3 separate regions of the Homo sapiens genome follow, and all the other regions are linked to region 3. The links are contacts of gene promoters, found by promoter capture Hi-C in blood cells and fetal thymus (Javierre and others, 2016). All regions are on one chromosome and are shown on one strand. Each heading gives the region's core, a stretch centred on a gene start or on the middle of the fragment in contact. The rest is flanking DNA. Distances are from core to core; before and after follow the strand shown.

The links. Contacts are between HindIII fragments. The CHiCAGO score rates a contact against its expected background, and 5 or more counts as called.
Region 1: a fragment that was not itself captured here is called in contact with the fragment with the promoter of PLCG1 in region 3 in 1 of 17 cell types (fetal thymus); the score reaches 5.6 in fetal thymus.
Region 2: a contact is called between the fragment with the promoter of ACTR5 here and the fragment with the promoter of PLCG1 in region 3, in 1 of 17 cell types (endothelial precursors). The highest score is 5.9, in endothelial precursors.

Annotation. Positions count from the first base shown.
Region 1 is chr20:38,842,101-38,845,218 of GRCh38, reverse strand. All of the region lies in intron 2 of PPP1R16B (protein phosphatase 1 regulatory subunit 16B), which reads right to left. Among named protein-coding and RNA genes, the nearest start is that of PPP1R16B, 38 kb to the right of the region's middle. RefSeq lists an enhancer at 2,347-2,456. The HindIII fragment of the contact is 550 bases long and covers 1,546-2,095 here.
Region 2 is chr20:38,746,586-38,750,050 of GRCh38, reverse strand. ACTR5 (actin related protein 5) reads right to left here and starts at 1,591. Exons shown (of 9, transcript NM_024855.4): 1 at 1,198-1,591; 2 at 1-41. The coding sequence starts at 1,572. RefSeq lists silencers at 1,356-1,545, 1,846-2,115 and an enhancer at 1,494-1,995. The HindIII fragment of the contact is 9,906 bases long and covers 1-3,465 here.
Region 3 is chr20:41,135,506-41,138,792 of GRCh38, reverse strand. It overlaps PLCG1 (phospholipase C gamma 1), which reads right to left and starts at 1,250. Exons shown (of 32, transcript NM_002660.3): 1 at 935-1,250. The coding sequence starts at 1,151. It overlaps LOC124904903 (translation initiation factor IF-2-like), which reads left to right and starts at 1,280. Exons shown (of 2, transcript XM_047440629.1): 1 at 1,280-3,091. The coding sequence starts at 1,454. The coding sequence ends at 2,035. PLCG1-AS1 (PLCG1 antisense RNA 1) reads left to right here and starts at 793. Exons shown (of 7, transcript NR_109889.1): 1 at 793-1,079; 2 at 2,982-3,091. RefSeq lists enhancers at 133-212, 361-460, 382-1,166, 1,951-2,735 and silencers at 611-870, 991-1,980. The HindIII fragment of the contact is 8,103 bases long and covers 1-2,292 here.

The sequences.
Region 1 (3,118 bases), core at 571-3,070, 2.3 Mb after region 3:
TCTCTGCCCCATCTGTCCCTCTAGATCTTCCCCTCTCCGTGCCTGAGGAAGCCAGTTGACTTGCACTACATCAAAGGCTTCCTTGCATTCTGCTTTCTGGTTAGGTTTGTCACCGAAAGCACCAGAATGGCAGGGGCATGGAGTGGCAGCCACTGCTCCTTTAGGTAGCCCTCTCCATACGGTGCCTTCCTTAGGTTCCAGTAGGTTCATTTCCTTGTCTCCTTCAGGCCCAGGGGGTGGGGTGGGGTGGGTAAGATCTCCCAACTTTTGCTATCCCAGGGTATTGTCCCATTCCTTGTTGACCCCCATAAACCAGTGGTTCTCAAAGTGGTCTCTAGACTCTTTCAGGGTATTAAAACATCAAAATAATTTTCACAGTAACACTAAGAAATTACTTGCATTTTCCACTGTGTTGACATTTGCACTGATGGTGTAAAAGCAATGGTGGGTAAAACTACTGTTGTTTTAACAGAATTAACTTAGTGGCACCAAGCTGTACTAGCAATCACCATCTTCATTGTTTTGTATGTGCAATCAAAAGAAAAAAATCAATACCAGTTTCCCTTAAAAATGTCCTTGATAAAGCAATAAAATGTATTAATTTTATGAAACCTTAATCCTTGAGTACATGTCCTTTTAATATTCCATGTGACAAAATGGGAAGTTCAAAAAAAGAATAATCATTGTCTCCAACTGCATTACTTGAGCCATTTTTTAAGCTGTGTGCTAAGCTAGTCTCTTCTCTCATGGAGCACTAGTTTTACTTAAAGGATGTCTAGCAAACAATGGTTATTCAGACTTGAGTATTTAACAGGCAGTGTTTTTTTTCCTAAAAAGGGCAAATGGATCTTCTCACAACTGACAGCATTTGTTACCAATGATAGAATTTGAACTTTTAAGCAAAAATCCAAATTTTAGAAAACTTTTATAGCTACCACGAACTTACAGTTTCCCAGTACCTGAATAATTGTATGGCAAGATTGTTATTGAAACTATACATTTTCTTATATTGTATAAAGCAATGTGTCAACATTTGGAAGATCTGTGTAACTCAGTGAACCAATATTTTCTAACAGATCCAATATATTACATTAAAAAAAAGTACACATGGGTAAAAGAACCATTCAAAATGCCAGACAGACCAATGGATTTTGATGTAAATTGATATGGCTTCAGATTCAGCACTGCAACTAACCTTTAAGAAACTACTACTTGTTGAGTTTAGATGTAGTATCAAAGAATATCCACAATATCTGAAAAAGCAATTAAAATATTTCCTCCCTTTTCCAACTACATAAGATTTTCTTTATTTACTTCAACCAAAATAACATATCACAACAGATTGAAGGCAGAAGCAGATAAGATACTCCAACTGTCTTCCATTAAGCCAGATCTTAAAAAGATTTGCAAAAATATAAAACAAGGCTACTCTCCTCATTGCTTTTTTTTTTGTTTTGAAAAATATAATTTTTCATAAAAATATTTATGTTAACATGTGGTGGTTTTAAAACATGTCCACAAATTCTCTCTTCAAAAGATGAAGCTTAATTCCCCACCCCTTGAGTGTGGGCTGGACCTAGTGAGTCATTTCTCATGAATAGAAGATGGTAGAAGTGATGGTACATGATTTCCAACACAAGGTCATAAAGGCATTGCGGATTCCTCTATCTCTTGGATCACTCACTCTGAAAAAAGCCACCTGCCATGCTGAGAGAACACTCGAGCTGTCCTATAGAGAGGGCCACATGGCAGGGAACTGAGGCCTCCTGCCAAGAGCCATGCCAGTGAGCCATCTTGGAAGTGGATTCTCCAGCCCCAGGTAAATCCTGAAGTGACTGCAACCTTATGAGATATCCTGAACGAGAACCACCCAGCTGAGCTGCTCTGGATCCCTGAGCCACAGAAATTGTGTGAGGCAGTATATGTTTATTGTTTTAAGCTGCTAAATTTTGAGTTCATCTGCTACGCAGAAGCAGATAGCCAACAGATAATGTGTTTATCATTCTGACTTAATGAATGAATAAATATTTAATGCCTCCGTTTAAATTTCGAATACAGTAAATATGGGTAGATAGAACCCAGCTAAACCAAAGCTTTTAGGAGTTCTCAGGTTTTAAGAATATAAAGGGCCTCTGAGACCAAAAAGTTTGAGGACCACTTCCCTAAACCCTTTACAAACTGCCCCTTTATCAAACTTTCCACAAATCACCCCATATAAAATCACCATTTGTTTCCTCCCAGGACGCTGCCTGACACAACAATACCAAAATATTATCAATGGTTGTTGCTGTTCAGGGGGAATATGGGTGATTTTATCTTCTTCTTAATGCTTCTTTTTTTCTGTACTTCTAAAAGTTTCTGTAACAATAACAGGGTTTTTTTTTTTTTAATAATTAGAAGAAAAGAAACTTCCCTTTTTAAAAGGACCAAAAGTGAAAGTCTGAGCTAGTTCCTGTAGATGAGCTGCTGGTTTAAGATGGTGGTGGCAAGGCCCAGGTGTCCAGCACTGTGCCTGGGGGTGGGGGAGGGGGTTGCAGGTGGCAGGGATGACTGAGCACCCCACCCACCTGACCCCAGTCAGAACAGCTCCTTCCTTTGTTTTACATATTGGGTTTCTGCATAATATCTCATTTAAAGAAAAGTTTCCACTGCTTAAAAAAGAGTTTGAAAACTTTTACAGTGAGAAAAATCATTAAATTTAATAAGAGTTAAATTTAGAGTACAGAAGAATCACTCAAACATTTTTTGAATGAGAATTTCCATAAAGAAAACCCTACACATTCTGAGAGAAAAACAGAAGTCTCTAACAACTTAACATACATTCAATGGTTTCAAGGGAGGCTGGGCTATTGTGGCCCTAGAAAGAAGTTATATCTGGGGCTAAAGAGTTTATCTTGGGGGCCCCAAATCAAAGGGCCCAAGATGCCAGCAGAAACACCAGGATGCCTAAGGCCAAAACAAACACAGATCAGTACAGCAACTGAGGGTTCTCTAGTTTTCTAGTGAAAACAAAAGCAGGAAGTACAGGACTGCCTGGTGGTTAAATACATGGGCTTCGGAGAAACTGATCTGGGTTTGAATCCTGGGATTGAGTCTGACACTTAAAACCTGTGAGACC
Region 2 (3,465 bases), core at 342-2,841, 2.4 Mb after region 3:
CACACAGCTTCTGTCAAAACTATGGGATGATCAACACAGCCCTACTTTGAAAGAAAAGGGCAAATAAATGAGTGGTAACAGAATACTCTTTTTGAAGCATAAAAGAACCCAAAATCCTTATTGCAGGACTGAATTTGCTTTTGGCTTCTTAATCAAAAACCTGATCAGAGGCGATTATAAAACTCCCATCTCATCTTTACTTGAAAATACGAAAGTAGAGTCAATTTAAGTTATTAAGTCAAGGTCCCATCCAAACTGTCAGCAAATCGTGTTGGCTCTATCTTCAAAGTATTTCCAGAATCCAACTGCTTCTAATGACATTCCCTGCTATCTGCCTCATCTAAGCCACCATCATCCCTTACCTGGGTTATTCCAACAGCCTCCTAACTCGTCCCTGTTTCCACCCTATGATCCAAGACAATTCATTCTCCATACAGCAGTAATAGTGATCCTTTTAAAACACAAGTCAGGTCCTTCTTCAGCTCAACACCCTGCCATGGCTCCCCATTTCACTCAGTAAAAGCCTATAAGGTGTGTGATCTGCCTCTCCACTACCTCTCTGACATCCTCTTTCAGGTACTACTCTCCCCCTCACACAGGCAGCCTTGCAGTTAGGATTAGGGCACACTCCTGCCTCGGGGCCTTTTTACTGGCTGCTCCCTCTGCCTGGACCGTTTTTCCTTCAGATATTCACATGGCTTGCTACCTGAATCACCTCCTTCAAGTCCTTGCTCAAACATCACCTTCACGAGTCCTACCCTGACCATCTTACTGAAAAAATGTAACTCCCTCCTCTCCTATCACGGCGTAGAATCTACTATTTCTATGTTTACTGTCTGCCTTTTCATACTAGAATATCTTTCCATAGTATTAACAGCTCCATAAGCACAGGAAGTTTTGTGTTCACACATGTACTCCAAATGCCTAAAAAGTGCCTGACACAGAGTAAGTGCTCAATACGTATTTGTTAATAAATGGGCTTCTTAACAAACAAGCATATATGCCCAAAGGTATGCTCCAAGATACAAGGAGCAGCATTTTATTCGCTGCTACACCCACAGCGCCTAGCATCTGGTCGACTAAAAGACAATCGGAGCTACTGAAGTGACTGTTACCTCTCCGAGAGCAGAGTGAGCGGAGACGAGACCGCACCCCTCCCCTCAAACCCAGCCCAGCCCAGCCTACTCCGCCCTTCACCTGTGAGGAGACACCCAGGTGCTGGAAGCTGTAGTCCAGCAGCAACTCCTGAAGCTCCAGGTTGACCGGCACGTTGCGGTCGAAGGGCGAGCGCAGCATCCAGCGCAGTGGCTCCAGGCTGCCCAGAGCGTTCCCCACCTGCGGGCCCGACGCGCCCCGTGCCCCGCCACGACCGCGGGCGCACACCGCGCGGAACTGCAGGCGCGGCTCGGGACCTGGGTCCTGCCCGGGACACGCCCAGCCAGCGCGGACTTGGAACGACCCGTTGTCCAGCACCAGCGGTACCGGCAGTGGCCCGTGTGCCACCGGGCCGGCCTCCAGCACTGGGTCCGGTGCGGCACGGGCGTCGCGGAACGGGAACACGTTCGCCGCCATCTTGGAGCGCGCGTCCAGCCCCGCCCCTCGGCGCAGTGTCCGCCCAGACGCCGCGAAACCGCGCCCCCGACGTCACGCCGCGCGATTCAGGCCTTTAAGTACCTCGATGCCCCCTCCCTTCTCGAAGCCCGGCCAGCCTTTCCACTTGACTCGCCTCTGGCTGTCAAGGCTGCTTTCAGGATCGCTGAGACGTACCCATTCTGGCTGCGAAATTCTACGTTTCTTAACCTCTCCCCCAATAGCCTATGAGTGCCCACGCCCCTTCACTCTAGCCGGGACGCCCGGTTTGGAAGCCCCGCCCCAAAGCCTATCGCCGCCAGGCCCCGCCCCTTTCTGGCTGCCAGCTTCAGCGCCGCGCTCGGTGGAGCCCCGCCTCTCTGCCTGGCCACGCCCCATTGCCGGGCGCGCACCGTCGGCCGGGCGCGCACCGTCGGCCGGGCGCGCACCTTCGACCGCCGGCGGCCCCGCCTCCGCGTGGCTGTCTCGCCCTCAGTCTTGCGTCCTGGCTAGAAGGGTCCTTTATCTTTTGACGCTTCCTTTACGTTAAGAAATCTCAAACTCTGCCGACTGTTCAATTTCTTGACTAGGGAGCTGACTACTCAGTTCTGTTCACTTTACTAACTCGCACAGACTGTGTCTTCTCACTAAGACACAGTGTTTTCTCAAACCCTGAGAAAAGACTGCTGATTGTTCCCCAAGCATTCCCTCTCTTTTAGTGGCATCACCTCCCACTCCCACGTGGCCATCCGTCTGGCTGCGATCTAGATGCGCTCATGTGACTAAATTCTGGCCAGGAGCGGGTGGGAGAGGAGGCCATGTGTGTGACCCACTCAGTTTTAGCCCTAAAAGCACTCGTCGCGCTCTATCCTGTCGCATTTCCATCTTTTCACTAGCTAAGGGGGTAAGAATTAGAGCAGTTGTTTTACTACAACCTTTTTTTGTGCAGTGGGGCGATCTCGGCTCACTGCAGCCTCGACTTCCTGGACTCAAGTGATTCTCCCGCCTCAGCCTCCTAAGTAGCTGAGATTACAGGCGTGCACCACCACGCCCAGCTAATTTTTATATTTTTAGTAGAGAAGGGATTTCACTATGTTGCCCATGCTGGCCATAACCATTTTGAAAGAAGAAAAAGAATAGAGCAGCTGCCTTGAATCTACTCTACCAGGTCTATAACACTTCAGTTTGAGAGATAAAATCAAATTAGTTACAAAAGATATTGTAAGCGAGAAATGAAACTCCTAACTTATCTCAAGAACCTCTATTAACAGTGTTTGTTGTTGTTGTTGTTTGTTTTTTTTAAGACGGAGTCTGGCTCTGTCACCCAGGCTGGAGTGCAGTGGTGTGATCTTGGCTCACTGCAACCTCCACATCCCCGGTTCAAGCAATTCACCTGCCTCAGCCTCCCGAGTAGCTGGGATTACAGGCATGCTCCACAACACCCAGCTAATTTTTTTTATTTTTAATACAGACGGGATTTCGCCACGTTGGCCAGGCTGGTCTCGAACTCCTTGGCTCAAGTGATCCGCCTGCCTCGGCCTCCCAAAGTGCTGGGATTACAGGCTTGAGACGACGGGCCCAGCCTGTTAACACACCTAAACCAGATTGGGAGCCAGCCCAGTGGCAAAAATCAGGTTGTGTTGTCTTTCAACACACGTCCATTGTTCAGATATCTGAAGTAACCATCGTTAAGTTAATTAAGAGGGGGACCAGCAGAACACAGAAACCAGTAAATGTAAGTTAGTGAATGTTAATTTAAGAATTGTGTCTATGTATATTAATATGAAAAAGCACTGGCTGGGCGCAGTGGCTCACACCTGTAATCCCAGCACTTTGGGAGGCCGAGGCTGGTGGATCGCCTGAGGTCGGGAGTTCGAGACCAGCCTGGCCAACATG
Region 3 (3,287 bases), core at 1-2,500:
CCCACTAGAGACCAGCGCAAAAGCAGCCAAGCTCAGGCCTGGGAAGGCGAAAAGGCAGGAAACTAAGAGAAGCCGCTCCCGCTCCCTGAAGCCACCGGACAGAGGACAAAGGGCTAGACTCACAAACTAGCTGCACTCCTGAGAAGAATACCTGACTCCAAGGCGCTGGGGCAGGCCTTTATGGGGCCCATCTCCTGGGAACGTGCTTCCCAGGGCAAGGGGAGTCCCTGCCCTGGCATTGAGTGTCTGCCCACCCACATAGGCCTCCAAAACCCAGCTTTGGGACAAAAGTAGCAGAAAAAAAAAAAAAAAAATTCCAGCCACTGGCTTCTCTCAGGCTTCTCCAAACCAAACAAGACCACCTTCCTCCCTCTCCCCCAGAGGGAGATGAGTAGGCCCAGCTCTGCTCCAAGACCAGCCCTACCCAACATCTGCCTAAGTTCTACTTAGGGAACCCAAAGATTCCTTTGCAAATAAGAGCCCAGCCTGGGGGCCCGGAGAGTTTCACAGACTGCTCTTTCTGGATAAAGAGTGGGCGGGGACCGTCTGGTCAGGCCCCAGGTTCCCGTGCAGGGTGGGGGCCACTGCCTTAGCTCCCCTCGCCGACGCCGCCACCACTCCCAGGGTCTGGGGGGCCCGATGCCTGCACCGCAGGTCTCCAGCCCGCGAGGATTTTTAGGCCTCAGGGCAAAGCGCCTGGAACACTCCCCCCAGCTGGGGGAGGGGGGGTGTCCTGTCAGGTGACCGAGGACCCGGATGCCCCCCGCCCCCAGTGACCACCCGAGACGAAGCGGGGGCGGGGCCCGGAGGGAGTCTGGGAGGGCCCGAAAGTTTGCCCAAGTCGCTGGGGCGGCCGGCCGGGGTGCAAGCAGTCGGGCCGGGCTCCCACGACCCCCGCGCGGGGCGGGCCCAGGCAGGAAGTGGGCGCACTTACTGGCCCCCTCGATCTTGTCGGCGCCCCGGCTCCACGTGATCTGGCGCGTCTCCAGCTTGACCTGGAAGGTCTTCCGCTCGGGTCGCTGCGACTTCTTGGAGTAGAACAAAGTCATGACGGTGCCCACCTCGAGGCTGCGGCAGAGGTGCAGCACCTCGGCGTCCGAGGGCGCGCCGGGCCCGCAGCCGTTGGCGCAAGGGGACGCGGCGCCCGCCATGGCTCCGACGCTGGGGGCGGCGGCGGCACAGGCCAGGACCGCCCGGGAGCAAGCGCAACGGCGGCGGCTGAGGTTGGGGCTGAGGCTGAGGCGGCAGACGAGCGGGACCCGGCGGCGGCTCCTGCAGGCGGACACGGGGCGGGGCCTCAGCGCGGCGGGGCGGGGCTGCCCTGAGGCCCCACCCCGCTTCGGCGCCGGGAACAAAGGCGCCCGCGCACCCGTGGGGAGGACCCCCGCCCGTCGGCCCGCCGCGCCTGCGCCCCGCGACCCCCAGACAGGCCGCAGGCGGGGACGGAGGCGCGATGGCGGCGGGAGCGCGCGCCGTTCCCGGTCGACCCACCCAGCCCTCAGTCCCGCAGAGCTTTCTCACGCGGCCCCGGACACAGCCCGGCGGCCACGAGCGGCCCTGTCACGCACGGCAGCCCCGCCCACAGGCCGCAGGCCCGGCGGCCGGCGCGTCAGTCAGGCGTACTCGCACGGGCGGCCGCTACCCCGCGGTCCCGCACAGACGCAGCCCCCGCGTCCCGAACACCGCCCATGCAGCGACCGGGACGGGACGTGAGGGGATGGCGCGTCCTCCGGGAATGCCCGGCCAAACTCAGTTACCTGGGCGGGCTTCCCGGACAAGGGAGCCAGGACGGGCCGCCTCACACCGGCGGCGGCGGGTCCTCCGCGCGCCCTCTCCCGGGAGGGGCGGGGGCGGGGCTGCCTGCGGATTGGTCGCGGGCACTGATGGACAGCCGACATGTCCCGCCCCCCCGGCAGCGCGGGGCTGGTCCGCAGGCAGTTCTGGCGACGGCCAGACCCACGTCTGTCTGTTCCGCCCCTGCTGCCAGGGTGGCTTTCAGTGGTCCTCTCTTTCGGAGAGTTCCCCCCAAGCGTGAGCACCCCTTACAGGGGCGTTAGGTCCGCGGCCGCGCTGTCCAGTGGTCTGACCTGCAGCTCCCAGGGCCTTTGTGTCTGTCCCTCGCATGGGCCTCTGCACGCTCCGTCCCCACGCGACAGGACTCGAGTCCGATTCGGGGCTCCGACTCAGACCCTACCCCGCAGCGCCCTCCTGCAAATGCTCTCCTGAACTTTGGTTTTCCCCGCCTTGCTTTCTTCCTCCTCCTGTAGCCGCTGCCTCTCGATCTCAGAAGCTTCTCTTCCTCTGCACTCAGTGCTAGGCCAGATCCCAAGGCGACCTGACCTTTCCCCTGGCTTTGCCCAACAACACAGGCACCGGTGACTCCAAACCTGCATCTCCCCTACGTTCCAGGCCCCAGCATCCCACTGCATGTTCCACATCCCCCCCCCTTAGACAGCTCGCCTTCCCTCCCCAAACGATTCCTTCCACAGTCTTCACTTTCTCAGAACGCGGCGCTAAACTTCTCTAAGTTGGAAGGTCAAAAACCTTGCAGCTAACTTTGATTCCTCCCTTTGCCTCACCTCCAATCCATCAAGACCTTGTCACTCAGCCCACAAGCTGAAGGCCCCATCTCCTGTCACCCAGACTACTCACCTTGTTTGGTTTTGCCTGGATCTATCAGTTTGGTTTTGCCTGGATTTATCATGCTTTAAATCTTTAAAATGAAATTAAATCATGATCCCCTACATCCAGGCTAAAACCCTCCGTGAATTCCCATTGCACCTAAAATCCACACTCCCTGCTTGGCCTAGCAGGTTCTATATGACCTGCCCATCTCACCAGTTTCATCTCTCACAAGTGATCCTTCACTCTCCATTCTCCAGCCACAAGGCCTTTTTCTGGTTATGGAATATAATTCATACTCTTTGTCTTTCTGAAGCCATTCTTGAAACTCACCCCTGCAATCTATCTACCCTTGTCAGCACCGCCAAAATTGAGGACACCCACGGTCGCGGTGGAGCCTGTCTGACATGTTGAGCCAGGCAGTGGGTCGGCTGCCAGGCACAGCAGGACAACTTACTGCATTTCAGAGGTGAGAAGCCCAACAGAGCTTCCAGCTGATGCCAGAGAAAGAGCCAGGCTTCCTGGGAATTGTGAGATAGTAGGACTAGACTAGAGTTTGTAAGAGCGTGTGCTCAGGCAACCCACTCAGCTGGATAGTGACCTGGGGCTGCTGCTTCTGACTTTGTCTTGCTGTAGTGGAAACTTGTGTGTTAACGTTGATTTCC